Regions from separate parts of the Homo sapiens genome. Here all the other regions are linked to region 3. The links are contacts of gene promoters, found by promoter capture Hi-C in blood cells and fetal thymus (Javierre and others, 2016). All regions are on one chromosome and are shown on one strand. The core of a region is centred on a gene start or on the middle of the fragment in contact, and the rest is flanking DNA. Distances in the headings are between cores, read along the strand shown.

Evidence for each region. The method cuts DNA at HindIII sites, captures the fragments that hold promoters and counts their contacts. A CHiCAGO score of 5 or more calls a contact.
Region 1: a contact is called between a fragment that was not itself captured here and the fragment with the promoter of CUX1 in region 3, in 2 of 17 cell types (M1 macrophages and fetal thymus). The highest score is 5.4, in M1 macrophages.
Region 2: a fragment that was not itself captured here is called in contact with the fragment with the promoter of CUX1 in region 3 in 1 of 17 cell types (M1 macrophages); the score reaches 6.1 in M1 macrophages.
Region 4: a contact is called between a fragment that was not itself captured here and the fragment with the promoter of CUX1 in region 3, in 1 of 17 cell types (M2 macrophages). The highest score is 5.3, in M2 macrophages.
Region 5: a contact is called between a fragment that was not itself captured here and the fragment with the promoter of CUX1 in region 3, in 1 of 17 cell types (M0 macrophages). The highest score is 5.7, in M0 macrophages.

What each region holds. Positions count from the first base shown.
Region 1 is chr7:102,006,423-102,009,122 of GRCh38, forward strand. All of the region lies in intron 2 of CUX1 (cut like homeobox 1), which reads left to right. Among named protein-coding and RNA genes, the nearest start is that of CUX1, 190 kb to the left of the region's middle. The HindIII fragment of the contact is 4,137 bases long and covers 1-2,700 here.
Region 2 is chr7:101,957,467-101,960,200 of GRCh38, forward strand. All of the region lies in intron 2 of CUX1 (cut like homeobox 1), which reads left to right. Among named protein-coding and RNA genes, the nearest start is that of CUX1, 140 kb to the left of the region's middle. The HindIII fragment of the contact is 3,714 bases long and covers 1-2,734 here.
Region 3 is chr7:101,816,367-101,819,087 of GRCh38, forward strand. CUX1 (cut like homeobox 1) reads left to right here and starts at 1,260. Exons shown (of 24, transcript NM_181552.4): 1 at 1,260-1,303. The coding sequence starts at 1,274. RefSeq lists an enhancer at 1-444 and silencers at 270-429, 540-859, 930-1,009, 1,040-1,109, 1,160-1,209. The HindIII fragment of the contact is 10,531 bases long and covers 1-2,721 here.
Region 4 is chr7:101,561,075-101,563,774 of GRCh38, forward strand. It overlaps LINC01007 (long intergenic non-protein coding RNA 1007), which reads right to left. Exons shown (of 3, transcript NR_103749.1): 3 at 1,681-2,013. Among named protein-coding and RNA genes, the nearest start is that of LINC01007, 6.6 kb to the right of the region's middle. The HindIII fragment of the contact is 9,098 bases long and covers 1-2,700 here.
Region 5 is chr7:101,630,365-101,633,064 of GRCh38, forward strand. No RefSeq gene overlaps it. Among named protein-coding and RNA genes, the nearest start is that of MYL10, 2.4 kb to the left of the region's middle. The HindIII fragment of the contact is 1,145 bases long and covers 762-1,906 here.

The DNA.
Region 1 (2,700 bases), core at 75-2,574, 190 kb after region 3:
GTCTCGCGCTATCACCCACGCTAGAGTGAAATGGCACGATATCGGCTCACTGCAACCTCCGCCTCCCGGGTTCAAGCAATTCTCATGCCTCAGCCTCCCGAGTAACTGGGATTACAGGAGCGCGCCACCACACCTGGCTAATTTTTGTATTTTTAGTAGAGATGGAGTTTCACTATGTTGGCCAGGCTGGTCTCAGGCGATCCACCCGCTTCAGCCTCCCAAAGTGCTGGGATTACAGGCGTGAGCCACCGTGCCCGGCCCTAGAATGAATTTTTCTTTTAGGGAAAATAAGGTTATTGGTGAATGGGTTTGGGCTGTCATCTTCAGAAACTGATTTCATCTAGAACAGTTTGTGACGGGCAGATGTGGAATAAAACCACTGGATGCATCAGGCGTCACTGCCAAGGGTGCAAGGGGCTGCTCCATGCTGGGCGTGCGAGAGGAGCAAGAAGCCGTCCCCGCCCACCACGGTGCAGGCCGGGATGCAGCGGAAAGCCCTTGCTTCTTAGATTTCCCACACAAAAGTGTATTTCTTGTAGATTTCGCCAGCGCGGGCCTCCTCCTCTGCTTGGCAGTGGCTCTGCACGAGCTGCCTTGGGATGGATCTCTCATCTTTGCTGCTGGCCTCATCCAAGGAACAGACCCCATGCACGGAGCCTAGATGCCCCGAGGTCTTCACTGATGGCCCTCTGAATTTTTATTTTGTTTGTATTTCATTTGTTACTGATTGAATTTTTGAGACAGGGTCTCGCTCTGTAGCGCAGGCTGGAGTGCAGGGGCGCGATCCTGGCTCACTGCAGCCTCGGCCTCCTGTACCTAAGCCATGGCCCTCTCTGACTTTGAACCCCTCAGTTCATTCTCAGATCAGACCACTCACTCACTGAGGCCCTCGGCTCTTCCACAGGTCTCAGCCTTTTGCCCCTTATAGTTTTTAGTTGTTGCAGCCTTTCTGTTCTCTTCCCCTCTCCTGTTAAGGGGACATTTCCAAGCACCCTGGCCACAGAACCTCCTCACCTCCCACCCTCCGCCCCTGGGTGCCAGGGCCTGGGTTCTCTGTGGAAGTCCTGCCAGCTCCGGGTATTTCCCACGTGGATTTCTCATCATCTTCACCACCAGATCAGTTCCTGGCCTGCACCCCTCCTGTCTGGCTTGTGGCAGGGGCTGCCACCCTCACCTGGGCCCTAAACTTCTACAAAGCCCCACTCTCTCCTGTTCCCGTCAGTCTGCTTGCCAAGTCCAGTTTATTTTAATTCTGGGGAACGTTGTCTTCCTCCTCCCCCCTCCCTCGCCACCACCCACCTCTGGTGTTTTTTTTGTTTTGTTTTGTTTTGTTTTTTTTGAGATAGAGTCTCACTCTTGTCACCCAGGCTGGAGTGCAGTGGTGCGATCTCGGCTCACTGCAACCTCCGCCTCCTGGGTTCAAGCGATTCTACTGTCTCAGCCTCCTGAGTAGCTGGGACTACAGGCACCCGCCACCACACCCGGCTAATTTTTGTATTTTTAGTAGAGGCAAGGTTTCACCATGTTGGTCAGGCTGGTCTCGAACTCCTGACCTCAGGTGATCTACCTGCCTTGGCCTCCCAAAGTGCTGGGATTACAGGCACCACTTCTGGTTCTGTTACCTTCGTCCAAACTTGTATTTCCCAGCTGGTATCTTCCATCTCCAGGCTTTCCCCTCTGGCCTGTCCTTTAGCAGGAGTCACCTTCCTGAAGCAGACCCTGGTCTGGTCTCTGCGTACTACCTTTTGCATGGTTGGTGGCCGTCCACCCGCCTCTCAGGCCATGTCTGGGTTCTTCTAGGGGCTTCGGTGATCTGGGAGCCTGTCCCCGCTGGCCCCCTCTCCCATGTCTTACTCCATCAGCTTCACCTTGTTTGTATCTCTGGATCTCCTCTTTTTTCCTTCTGTTTGTATCTTGTCTCTTTCTAGAAAGCCCCCCCACCTCTACTCGCCCCTCTGTGGCAAATATCACCCAATTCAGGTGCCCCCAGCCCAGCAAAGAGGGATTTTCATTCCTTGGGCCCCCGTTGTAGGCTAGCTGCGCCTGTCTTTCGGCACATTTCATTTCCTGCCTGGTATTTCGGTCGTGTGCGTGTCTTTATTCTCCTCGTGTAATCCCTGAGGTGCAGAGTGCGTGTCTGTCCTCCTCTGCCCTCTCTAGAGATTGGGATATGACCAGTGTTCAGCCCCCAACCAAAAGAGCCTAAGAACCCCAGGTCCCCAGCCTGTCCTGCTCTGCTGGGGGCCCACATGCCTGGGGACAAGGCACCTTTCCTTCCCTGACCTTGACTAGGACAGGACATGGGGTAGGGCCTGAACATTGAGCAATTGTCAAACTGCCTACTTACGATGAACAAAATAGCTTTTCAGGAGGCGAGACCACAGCACAGTCATGGTGAATCCTGATGCGCACCCCAGGTCTTTTATCAGGATTTTTGTTTTTCCTGGTGGGCACAGATGTAGGTGGAGCAGATCAGAGGCCTCTCAGGTTCTTGATCACTCATGGCAGTTCAGGCCTGCCAGTAGTGAGGTCAGAGATCCATACAGCAGGGGAGAGAAGGGAGGTACAGGGAACCCTCGGCCCCGCGTGCTCCAGCAGGTCTGCATGATTAACCTGAATTGCAGTGTTCAGAGGCTCGGCCTGCCAGCCACAGCGGTTCCAGATGAAATGCAGCTTAGAAGGCAGCATGGTGTAGTAGCT
Region 2 (2,734 bases), core at 116-2,615, 140 kb after region 3:
TCCCAGCACTTTGGGAGGCTGAGGCAGGCAGATCACCTGAGGTCAGGAGTTCGAGACCAGCCTGGCCAACTTGGTGAAACACCGTCTCTACTAAAAATACAATAAAAATTATAGCCAGGTGTGGTGGCAGGCGCCTGTAGTCCTAGCTAGTAGGGAGGCTGAGGCAGGAGAATCATTTGAACCTGGGAGGTGGAGGTTGCAGTGAGCTGAGATCACGCCACTGCACTCCAGCCTGGGCAACAGAGTGAGATTCCATCTCTTAAAAAATAAAATAATTTAAAAAAAACAAGAGAATGTTACTTTTTAATTTGAAAACAATAAGAAAATGTCCAAGTCTGCAAAATAGAGTCTTTTTGAAAGACTCTTCGTACTTATTAATTTATTCACCAGACATCTTTAAACGGAAACAGTGGTTAAGTGTGAGAGTTTGGAAGTCCCACAGATCAGAACCCCAGCTGCCGTTTACTCACTGCAGTCCCTGGGCAAGTAATTCAGTCATCTGAGTTTCCTTGTCCCTACCCGTGTAATGGGGGATCTCTGGTACCCATCTCATGGAGCTGCTAAAGTGATTAAATGAGACAAAAGTATGCGAGCCCTTTGCTGGAACATGTTTCTGGAATACTTGCTGTTATTAGTGGAAATATTGCCACCGTGCCATGTGCCAGACTCCGTGTGAAGTGTGCAGAGTGCTAGGTGGGTAAAAATAGCCCCCCTCCTTCTAGAACCTCCAACCCAAAGGTGGGAAGGGGCACACAGGTAACAGAAATGACAGCGTTGACATCTGGTGTGTGCTGTGTAAGTCATGTCATCTGTGCTGAACCCTGGGGCTCAGGAGAGACGTAGTGGGGCTGTCGTGGGAACTGGGCCCTACTTGGGAGCCAGGATGTGGGCCCGGCCTGAAGCTGCAGCAGCAGCAGCAGCAGCAAGATGTGAGAATATTTAGGAGATGGAACTTGGTTCAGTGGGAGGAGTAACCCAAAAGGACTCTAGGGTGGTCCTGAGATTTTCTTTTCTTTTTTTTTTTTTTTTTTTGAGGCGGAGTCTCACTCTGTTGCTCAGACTTGAGTGCAGTGACACAGTCTCAGCTCACTGCACCCTCCACCTCCCAGGTTCAAGTGATTCTTCTTCCTCGGCCCCTCAAGTAGCTGAGATTACAGGTGCGCACCACCATGCCTGGCTAATTTTGTATTTTCAGTAGAGACGGGGTTTCACCATGTTGGCCAGGCTGGTCTCAAACTCCTGGGCTTAAGCAGTCTGCCCACTTCAGCCTCCCAAAGTGCTGGGATTACAGGCATGAGCCACTGGCCAGTCCTGAAGTTTTCACAGAAGCATGAAAACACAGAGAGAATTCCTTTTCTGTCATAAGGAGATGATGCCCTTTTTTTTTTTTTTTTTTTTTTTTTTTTAAGAGACAGTATTGCCCTGTCGCCCAAGCTGGACTCCAGTGGTACAGTCGTGGCTCACTGCAGCCTCGACCTCCCTGGCTTAAGCAATCCTCCCACCTCAGCCCTCCTAAGTAGCTAGGACTACAGGCTCATGCCAGCCACCATGTCTGGCTAATTTTTAAATTTTTTATAGAGACACGGTCTGGCAGTGTTGCCTAAGCTGGTCTCAAATTCCTGGGCTTAAGTGATCCGCCCACTTCGGCCTCCCAAAGGATTACAGGTGTGAGCAACCACGCCCAGCCTGGATGATTGGATGGTGCCTATAGATTCAGGAAAAACAGACTTTTCCCCCAGAATGTTTTCCTTACCTAGCTCTATGTGTGTGCAGTGTGTGTGTGTGTGTGTGTGTGTGTGTGTGTGTGTGCAAGAGAGCGTGGCTAAGACAAGGGTATTCACCTGGCATCCTCATTCCCAAGTTGCCAATACTCCTCTCCCCTTTTTTCTTAACTCACCACCTGGGAAGTTTTCCTATTTCTCTCCCTCCTATCCCAGATAAGAAGAATTGCCTTCTTTCCTCCCAGCTGATTTGCTTTTCTCGTCATTATATGGCAAACCAGGCTGCACTCCCCTCCTAAGGCAGGCGGTGGTTCTCTTTGGGCTCTGAGTCCTCAGTGTTCTGCCTCTTCGGGTGCCAACCAGGAAAGCCGCCTTCCGCTTTTAGAGCAACGTGAAGAAATCATGGCAGCCCACGTAAGATCTCTCATTATTTCTGTTGAAACTGATTCTATCGAGGGTGGAGTGCATTGCCTTTAATTTCTTTGTTTGCGTGTATTTTTTTTCCCCTCTCTCTCACAAGAAGTATATTCTTTTCTTTCCTGTTTGTTCCTGCTCGATTTGGGGAGGCTGCTGTTTCCACTGCCTAATTAATGGGAAGGTGTTCTGCGGAGGATTTCACCGCGTACATATTCTCTGTTTGGACATGGTACAACCTGTGGACCCTTTTAAACATAGTTACATGTTTGACTCTTTATAGGGTAATAACTCGATTAATTTTGCAAGGCTTTTTAGAATACCATTGTTCTCTTGAAAAGAACAGGTTTGCTGTTTTAACAAGACTTTAATGCCATCGAGATGCCTCACATTGGCACGGTTGCGTAAGAATCGCACGGTCCCATGAAATGAAATTGAGAGAGCTTTTTCCGGCGCCTGGTTGGTTGGGGCGGCCTCCGTTCGGTGCTTTTTTCATCCTCGACCCAGTGACCAACTGTGTTTGCCCTGATGTTTCTTTCAATTCCACCATTCCGAAATGTCTCCGGAATCTGTCGTTTTAGCTTTTGCAGCAAGGTTCG
Region 3 (2,721 bases), core at 10-2,509:
CGGTGTCTGCCCCCACCCCGGGCGCCCCCCCGGGCCCCGCGCCGCCGCCGCCGCCAGCGCCGCCGCCGCCGTTGCCGCCGCGGGACCGGGGAGGGGGCGGCCCCGGCGGCCCGCGGGGTGCGCGCGCGAGCGGGGAGCGGGGAGCGGGCGGCGGGGGGCGGGCGGCGGCGGGCGCCGGGAGGGGGCCGCGGCCCGGCGGTGGCGCCCGCCCGCCCGCTCGCCCCGCGCCCCCGGCCCGCCGTATTCCCGGGGAAAGTTTGTGGGGAGTTGCTGCGGGGGGTGAAGCGCCTGCCTCTCCAGGAGGAGCCGCCGCCACTGCCGCCGGCGCGGCGGAGCTGGGGCTGGTGGCGCTGTGGTGCCGCCGGCTCGGGGGAGGGTCAGAGCGGCCACCGGCGGCGGCGGCGGCGGCGCGGCCCGGCTCCGGCCAGGCGGGCGGGTGGCCGGGCAGGCGCCCGCGCTCGCTACCCCCGGCCGGCCCCGGCCGCCGCCCCCGGCTGTCACCGGCCCGGGCCGCGCCGCCGCTCCGGCACCCCGCGTGTGGCTCCCGGCGCGGACCCCCGGGTTTGTTTACGTCCCGGGGAGCGCCCCGGGGCCACCCGCGCACCTCGCGGCCGCCGCGCTCTTTTGTGTGCCTGTGTCGGTGACGCGGACCTGTTCCTCCGTGGCGGACCCCCGCGGGGGCTCTTTGGGGAAACTTGGCGAGGGGCGGCGGGGGTGCCCCGCGCGCAGTGTCGCTGGGTCCCGGTGTCCCGGACCGCCGGGTGCGGGCGCGGGAGGAGGAGGCTGCAACTTTCCCCTAGGCAGGCCCCAAGCTGTTCCCCCGGGTGCCCGGGCAGTGTACGCTGCCTCCCCGCCGCCGGTCCGAGCCGCGATCGCCGCGCGCCTGGGGGCTCCGGCGGCCCCCGGTGACCTGCGGCGCCGGGTCCCTTCCTTGCGTCCCCTCGGGGCTTCTGCCCTCTCTGCAGGGCCCGCCATGGAGCGCGCGGCGGGTGCGCTCGGAGATGCCTTCTCGGGCCGGGTTCTCGAAAGCAGAGCCCCGGGGGCCCGTTGGGACCGTGGCATGCCGGGCGGTGGTCCGCGCGCGGAGTCCCCGGCGCCGCGGGGGGACCGTGCCGGGGCTCCCCGGCCCGCGCCCGAGTCGCCGCCGTGCCCAAGGGGCGAGTGCCTGCCTGCCACCCCCCGCCCGGAGGAGCGGCGCACCCTTAGGGTCCGCCCCGCACGTGCCAGCTCGGCGCCCGCGGCGCCGGGACAGCCCCGGGACTCTGCCAGGTGGATGTTGTGCGTAGCCGGAGCCAGGTTGAAGGTGAGCGGCGTGTGGGCCAGAAGTCCCGAGGTTGCAGGCGCGGAGGGAACCGGGGATGTCGGGGGGTGCCCGGGTCCCGCGGCTTAGAATGCTCTAGGGCGGCCTGGTGCTCTGGGAGGGGATAGGAGGGTTCCTCAGGGCCCCTGGGGAACTGCAGCTACTCCCAACTGCTAAGGTGTGCGTGAAGATAAACTTGGCTGAACTTTCCTAACCTGGAGGACTGGTGACAGTGACCTACCGCAATACCTTTGGGAGCAAAGCTCGAGATGCAGGCTTGTATCAAACGAAGCGGGTTGGATTAAAACATATTTAAATGGAATCTGACAACTTTAATTGTATATGCTTGTTTTCTGCTCTTGCCTACTAAGAACGATAAAGCCGAGTCATAGTCGTTATGAAATTTCCTGAAATTTCTCGCTTAACTAGGAAGAAGACTATGCGAAATATGTATTTCCGATAAGATTAAAACTTAAAGGAGTTTAAGTATTTATTGACTAAAATAGATTACTCCAAAGTGTCTATTGTGTAAATTAGATTCCTGGATGTAATGAACACAGCCGAATGGCATTTTTGATAAATTGGTCTACCCTGTTTTAGTAAAAATAGCTCCCTTTTACCATAATTTAATTCCTGTGCTTACTGTAAAACCCGTTGTGGAGTTTTAAGGACAAACATTATTATTATTTTTCTCTCTTGTCTTCCTAAATGTGACATCCTAGCTTAATATCAATGAAGTGTCTTTTTTAAAGCATCCTGGCAAAATTGCCTGGAAAATGGATTTGGTTTCTAGAGTTACTAGATTTTAAGAACTCTAAACCTTCCTGTCCCCCATATTAGCTACTTCTTCAGGGGATCAGGGCTCCAGGGTTCCATCGAAAGTTTCCATGTCAGTTTACTTGCACTTTATGTGGATATTAAGAAGAAATCAAAACCAAACCCCAAAACAAAGTCCCTTATTTGAACTTCATTCCTCTTTACTCCTTTGCTTTTGGTGGTTGCTAACGATTTGGCCTTAGATGATTTCCTATGGGTTTGCAAACTTTAGTCGAATACGGAATGTCAAAGTTCAAGTCTCAGGCCAATCTGGTTCTTTCTCTGGGCGGTGAGGAGGCCTTTGGAGTTGGTGTCTGGTTAATTCCCACCGATAGTCAGTGAGTCAATAGAACGAGTTTGGGAGAGAATTCATTAGTTCCAGATTTTTCTCATTTTTCCAGACCTCTTTATACTGAGATTGGGTTGCCACCTGGGGGTAAAGAGGCTGATCGGTCTTTGCAGAGAGAAATCCAGGTTGGAGACGTCAGCGGGTCCAGGTGAGGTTGGGCCGTTCCGCAGTTCTGCAACCCTGGCTCACTGGGTTCTTGTCCCTCGGCTTCCTGGGTCTTGAAGCTGCTGCCTTGGCACAGGAGTGTGTGCTCAGG
Region 4 (2,700 bases), core at 127-2,626, 260 kb before region 3:
TCATTCAGCAAACAGGGAGACCCGGGGTCGGGCAGGTGCCTGAAGTCAAACCTTGGCAGGAACCACTGGGCAACTGTCCCAGGCAGGGAGTGTGAGTAGGTTTAGGCTGGAGAAATGTCCTCGCCCCTTTTATTCCTTTTCCCAGGGCAGGAGTTACAAAACCACGCATCTTTCCTTCCTTCCTCCTTTCCTTCATGTAACAAATCTTTTATTGATCACCTTAATTGAGCCAGGCCCTGAGAACTTTCCATGAACAAAAGACAGGAATCTCTGCCCTCAATGAACCAACGCTTCAAGGGGAAGAAGTCAAAATAGGCAATAAACAGCCTGGACAACATAGTGAGACCCCATCTCTAAAAAAAAAAAAATTAGCCAGATGTGGTGGCATGCACCTGTTGTCCCAGCCACTTGGAGGCTGAGGCAGGAGGATCACTTGAGCTTGGGAGGTCAAGGCTGCAGTGAGCTGAGATCACACCACTGCATTCCAGCCTGGGCAACAGAGCAAGACCCCGTCTCAAAAACAAAACAAAACAAAACCAAAATAGGTGGTAAGTGTATGTATTTTTAAAGCCAATAAGATGATAGGCTAGAAGCCTAGCCACGTCCAGATGATCAGCAATATGGAAGCGCTAAGGACTGGGAGCTGACAATTAGTCTTATTTTTTAATTTTTAAAACTTATTTTAATTTTGTGTGTGTGTGTGAAAAAACACCTCCTCTCCTCCTTGGGGAAGCAGACCAGCAGGCATTCATTCCCCCAGACCCAGTGGCAGAGATGGGATCCTAAGAGAGAGATTTGCCTGCATTACCTAGGACACCAAAACGTCCTGCCCCAGGGCTGCCCCCACTTCCCCCAAGGTCTTCCCCTTCCTTTTGTCTTAAAGGCAGACTCCACGCCCAATGACACCTTTGTCTTTCAATCAAGGGGTTGCTGAGTTTGGAGGGTGTGAACTGAGCTTAGACGCTCCAGGTGGGCACCCTCAGGTGGGCACACGAAGCCCCCCGTGGTGCAAGGTGGAAGCTAGTGAGGGAAGCAGAAGGGCTGGAGGATGACAGGGGCTGGCTCTCCCGGCTGTCACCTTCCAGCACAAGACTCTGACAGTCACAATTCCAACGTCAAACCTGGCCTTCCAGGTCCTTGGAAAAAGATATCTGTCAAAGTAGGAAGATAGAGCCTGTGTTACTTAACAGCTGGTTAGCTCAATGTATAACTTTTTTTCTCTCTCTCTCTCTGTCGCCCAGGCTGGAGTGCAGTGGCACGATCTCGGCTCACTGCAACCTCCGCCTCCCAGTTCAAACAATTCTCTTGCTTCAGCCTCCTGAGTAGCTGGGATTACAGGTGCCTGCCGCCACACCCAGCTATTTTTTTTTTCCTGTATTTTTAGTAGGGACGGGGTTTCACCATGTTGTCTAGGCTGGTCTCGAACTCCTGACCTCAGGTGATCCACCCATCTCAGCCTCCCAAAGGGCTGGGATTACAGGTGTGAGCCACCGCACCCAGCCTCGATGTGTAACTTTTAAATAGACTCATGGGATGCCTTCATTTTTCCTCTGGTCCCTGGATCCCGCTATGGGAGAGCCTGGATGGGACCAGCAGAGTCTAGGAGGGTAGGGAAAGGGCTGTATGAGGAATGTTTGGGGAAAAACAACTTCCAAGCTCCCGCCAGCAGGGTGGACGGGCCAGCCCGGAGTGTGTTCGATGGAGCCAGGGTAGCAGATACTGTGGGTCCCAGAGAAGGTCTGAGACAGAGCTGAGGGAGAAGGTCTCCCCCAAGGGGCTGGGTGTGAGTTGGTCCTTAATATGGTGAGGACAGATCCAGTGCTAAACAGTGAAACATGTCACCTCCTTTAACGTCACAGCCACCTCTCTCATTTTGGGGTGAGTCAGCTGAGCCCCAGAGAGGTTACATAGCTTCCTCAAGGTCACACAGGCGGTTGGCGGTGAAGCTGAGTTCCAGATCAGGTCTGTGGGATTTGGGAAGCCATGCTCTGCTCTGCCCCCGAGAAAGCGGTTCTGGAAGGAAAAAAGAGAGTTCACATAAACCCAGGGATGGCGCTGCCGAAGAGGCCAAGTGTGAGCAAAGGCTGGGGGCGGATAAAGGGCAGAGGAGATTTGGGTGGGGGTGGAACGAATCTCCCAGGACACTGAAGCACCTGCCAGGGTGGGGATCTCCGAGGACCGTGATGCTGGAGGGAGAGGAAACTGACCACTGAGGGTCTCAGTCTGGCCTCTCCTTGCCATCTGGCCGTAGAATGACCTTTCTGAAGTGCAAGCCTGGCGTTGCTCCTCCCTCACTCATGAATCTGCTGTGGCTCCCCTGTTCCTGGCCTCAAGCCTGAGCTCTGCCCCCTGGTGCTGTCACCTGGGTCCCTGTCCTGACCACCTTCTGCACACATAGTGGCTGCAGCCCCAGGAGTCAGCCAGGAGGTCTGCCCATTGTCCGGCCTCATCTCTGTCCAGCTGTGGAGGCTGGCTCCCCCCGCGCAAAGCAGTGCTAAGCGTCTGCAGGAAATGGGACAGCGCTGTTGGGGGAAGGGCCTCAAAGCCCCAGGGGGAGCCCAGCTCTTGGCCTTGTGTGACCCCCTCAAATCTTCACCTCCTCTCACCCCTGCAGCCAAGGAGACAGGGCGGGCCCATCTGATCCTCTGCCCAGCTTCAGGAAGGTTCTTGCATGCATGTGTGGACACCGCCGCTTGCACT
Region 5 (2,700 bases), core at 84-2,583, 190 kb before region 3:
GCCCGCTTTCTGCAGCAGGAAACCGTGTGCCTCAGTTTCCCCGACAGGGCTGCTCTCCTGGTGTCCTGGCGTTCCTCTCCGGGGAGAAAAACCACACGTTCCACAGGTGTTCAACAAGCCAGGCGGAAAGGAGAACCCAGCTCTGGGGACGGGAGCCTGGATTCCAGTCCCAGCCGCCTGGACCTGCTACAGAAGGGGGCCTGTGTGACCGCGACAGTGGCTAGGGTGCAGGCTTTCCATGCCCGGTCTGTGAGCCTGGCCCTGGGGCCTCCTGGCTCTGGGCTTACAGAGTGGGTAGCAGACCTATAACTCCTGCTTCCTGCCTCTGGCTTCCTGCTGCCCTGAGGCCTCTGCAAGCAAGGGCTCTTGCCTCCGGGGAGCACGCCCAGGACCGTGGCAGGGGCTCCCAAAGGCCGGGGACAGGCCTGAGCAAGCGGAGAGCCCCCCCGCCTGCCCGGAGGAGGGGAAGCGGCGCTGGTGAATCACACCGGGCTTACAAATTAGTCTGAGTGGATTTCCTCCCCTGGCCTCCTCCTTCATAGGACCGGAGGCAGGAAGAACCGGTGAGAAATCTGGTAGAGACGTGAAAACCCCGGGGTGAGATGGTTGGGAGATGTTTGTTCCTGGGGGGCGGGAAGTGTGAGGGTGCAGTGGCCTTGAGAAGGGGGAGCCGTGAGTTCTGCACCCACAGTGGGACCCTCAGTTTTCCCCATCTGAGAAATGGTGCCAGCAGCCAGGACCCCTTGAGGCTGCCATCGGGAAGCTTAGTGCCATTGGAAGGAGGTGGGCTTTGGGGTCATCGGCCTGGGGTTTGGAGGGCAGAGCCTTCCCCTGTCCCCCTTTCCCCCTGTGTAGATGGAGTCCTTGACAGAACTTGCAGCCTCTCCAAGCTGCAGCCCCCTCACCCAGGTGACACTGCAATGAGTCAGTTGTCGTGGCTGGGTCACACTGTTTGACTCAACTGACCACAGGGCCAGGGCCAGTTCTTGGGGTCAGAGACACTCTGAGAGGTCTCTGCTCCCAGCCAGGGGACCCTGGAGAGTAAGTGTCCTCTGGAACTGGAATTCCAGGTCTGCCTGGGGTTGAGTCAGAGAATACTTAGCACTCTCGGTTTCCAGAGGTAACTGAGGTCCTGGGAGTGGCCAAGCCAGGAAGGGAGCTTGGAACGAGCCCAGCTGCCTGGCAGGGGGACAGCTGTTCCCCAGACAACACTGGAACAAGCCGGGGAGATGCCTTCCCCTTTCAACCCTCACCCCTAACCTCTCACCTATAACTCCTCAGGGTCAGCAGGCTGTCCCTGTCCCCCAGCCCCACAGCCCTTGACCCCTTCCCTGGCCAGCCATCACCCTGACCTTGGCTGTTCTGCAAATTCTTCCCGAAATCTCCTTCCTCCAAGCCTTTGGCCACATTGTATGTTTCCCTACTCATCACAATCAGTCTCCAGCCTGCTTTAGAACACCTCTCGGACGGCCGTGGTGGCTCCCGCCTGTAATCTCAGAACTTTAGGAGGCCAAAGTGGGTGGATCACCTGAGTTCAGGAGGTCAAGACCAGCCTGGACAACACGGCAAAACGCTGTCTCTACTAAAAGTACAAAAATTAGCCAGGCGTGGTGGTGTGCGTCTGTAATCCCAGCTACTCGGGAGGCCGAGGCAGGAGAATCGCTTGAACCTGGGAGGTGGAAGTTGCAGTGAGCTGAGATAGCACCACTGCACTCTAGCCTGGGTAACAGAGTGAGACTGTGTCTCAAAAGAAAACACAAAAAACAAAAAACAACAAAAACAAAAGGAAGCCAACAGTGCTGCCTTCAGTCTGTGGCCGAAGGCCCAAGAGCTCCTGGCAAACCACTGGTTTAAGTTCAAGAGTTCAAAAGCTGAAGAACTTGGAGTCTGATGTTCGAGGGCAGGAAGCTTCCAGCACAGAAGATGAAGGCTGGAAGACTCAGTGAGTCTTCTTATTCCACTTTCTTCTTTCTGCTTTATTCTGGCCTCACTGGCTGATTAGACGCTGCCCACACAGATTAAGGGTGGGTCTGCTTCTCTCAGTCCACCGACTCAAATGTTAATTTCCTCTACCAACACCCTCACAGACATACCCAGAAACAATACTTTGCATCCTTCAATCCAATCAAGTTGATACTTAATATTAGCCATCACACCTACCTACTGAATTTGAGAGCCTAGGCCACTTTCTGACCTTCCCTGAGCAATCCCAGGCTGCCGTAAAAAATGCCTGCAAATTCTTTGACACTTTTTCCATGGAGAGGCGGGATCTATAACATCATTCCTTGCCAACAGGCAGGCTTTTGTGACTGCTTTGACCAAGAAAGTAGGGTAGAAGTGTCACTATGTGACTTCTGAGGTTAAGTCACAAAAAGCCATGGAGCTTCTACCTTATTTGCTGGGACTTTGTGCTGGAGCCCTGAGTCACTCTATGACGAGTCTGACTACCATGAGGCGGCCATGTTGTAGGGAAGACCAAGTCACACGAAGAGGCCCCGTGTCTGTACTCCAGTCAGCAGTCCCTGCCTTTGAGTCATCATCCGAGCCTCCCAGACAACAAACGTGTGAATGACCAGTCTTCAAGTGATTCTGGCACCAGCCATGGAGTCATCCCCATCCTTAGAGTCCCCCGAGCTGAGGCCCTAGACATTATGACAAGCCACCCTCACCATCCCTTTTCTGAATTTCTGATCCATAAGA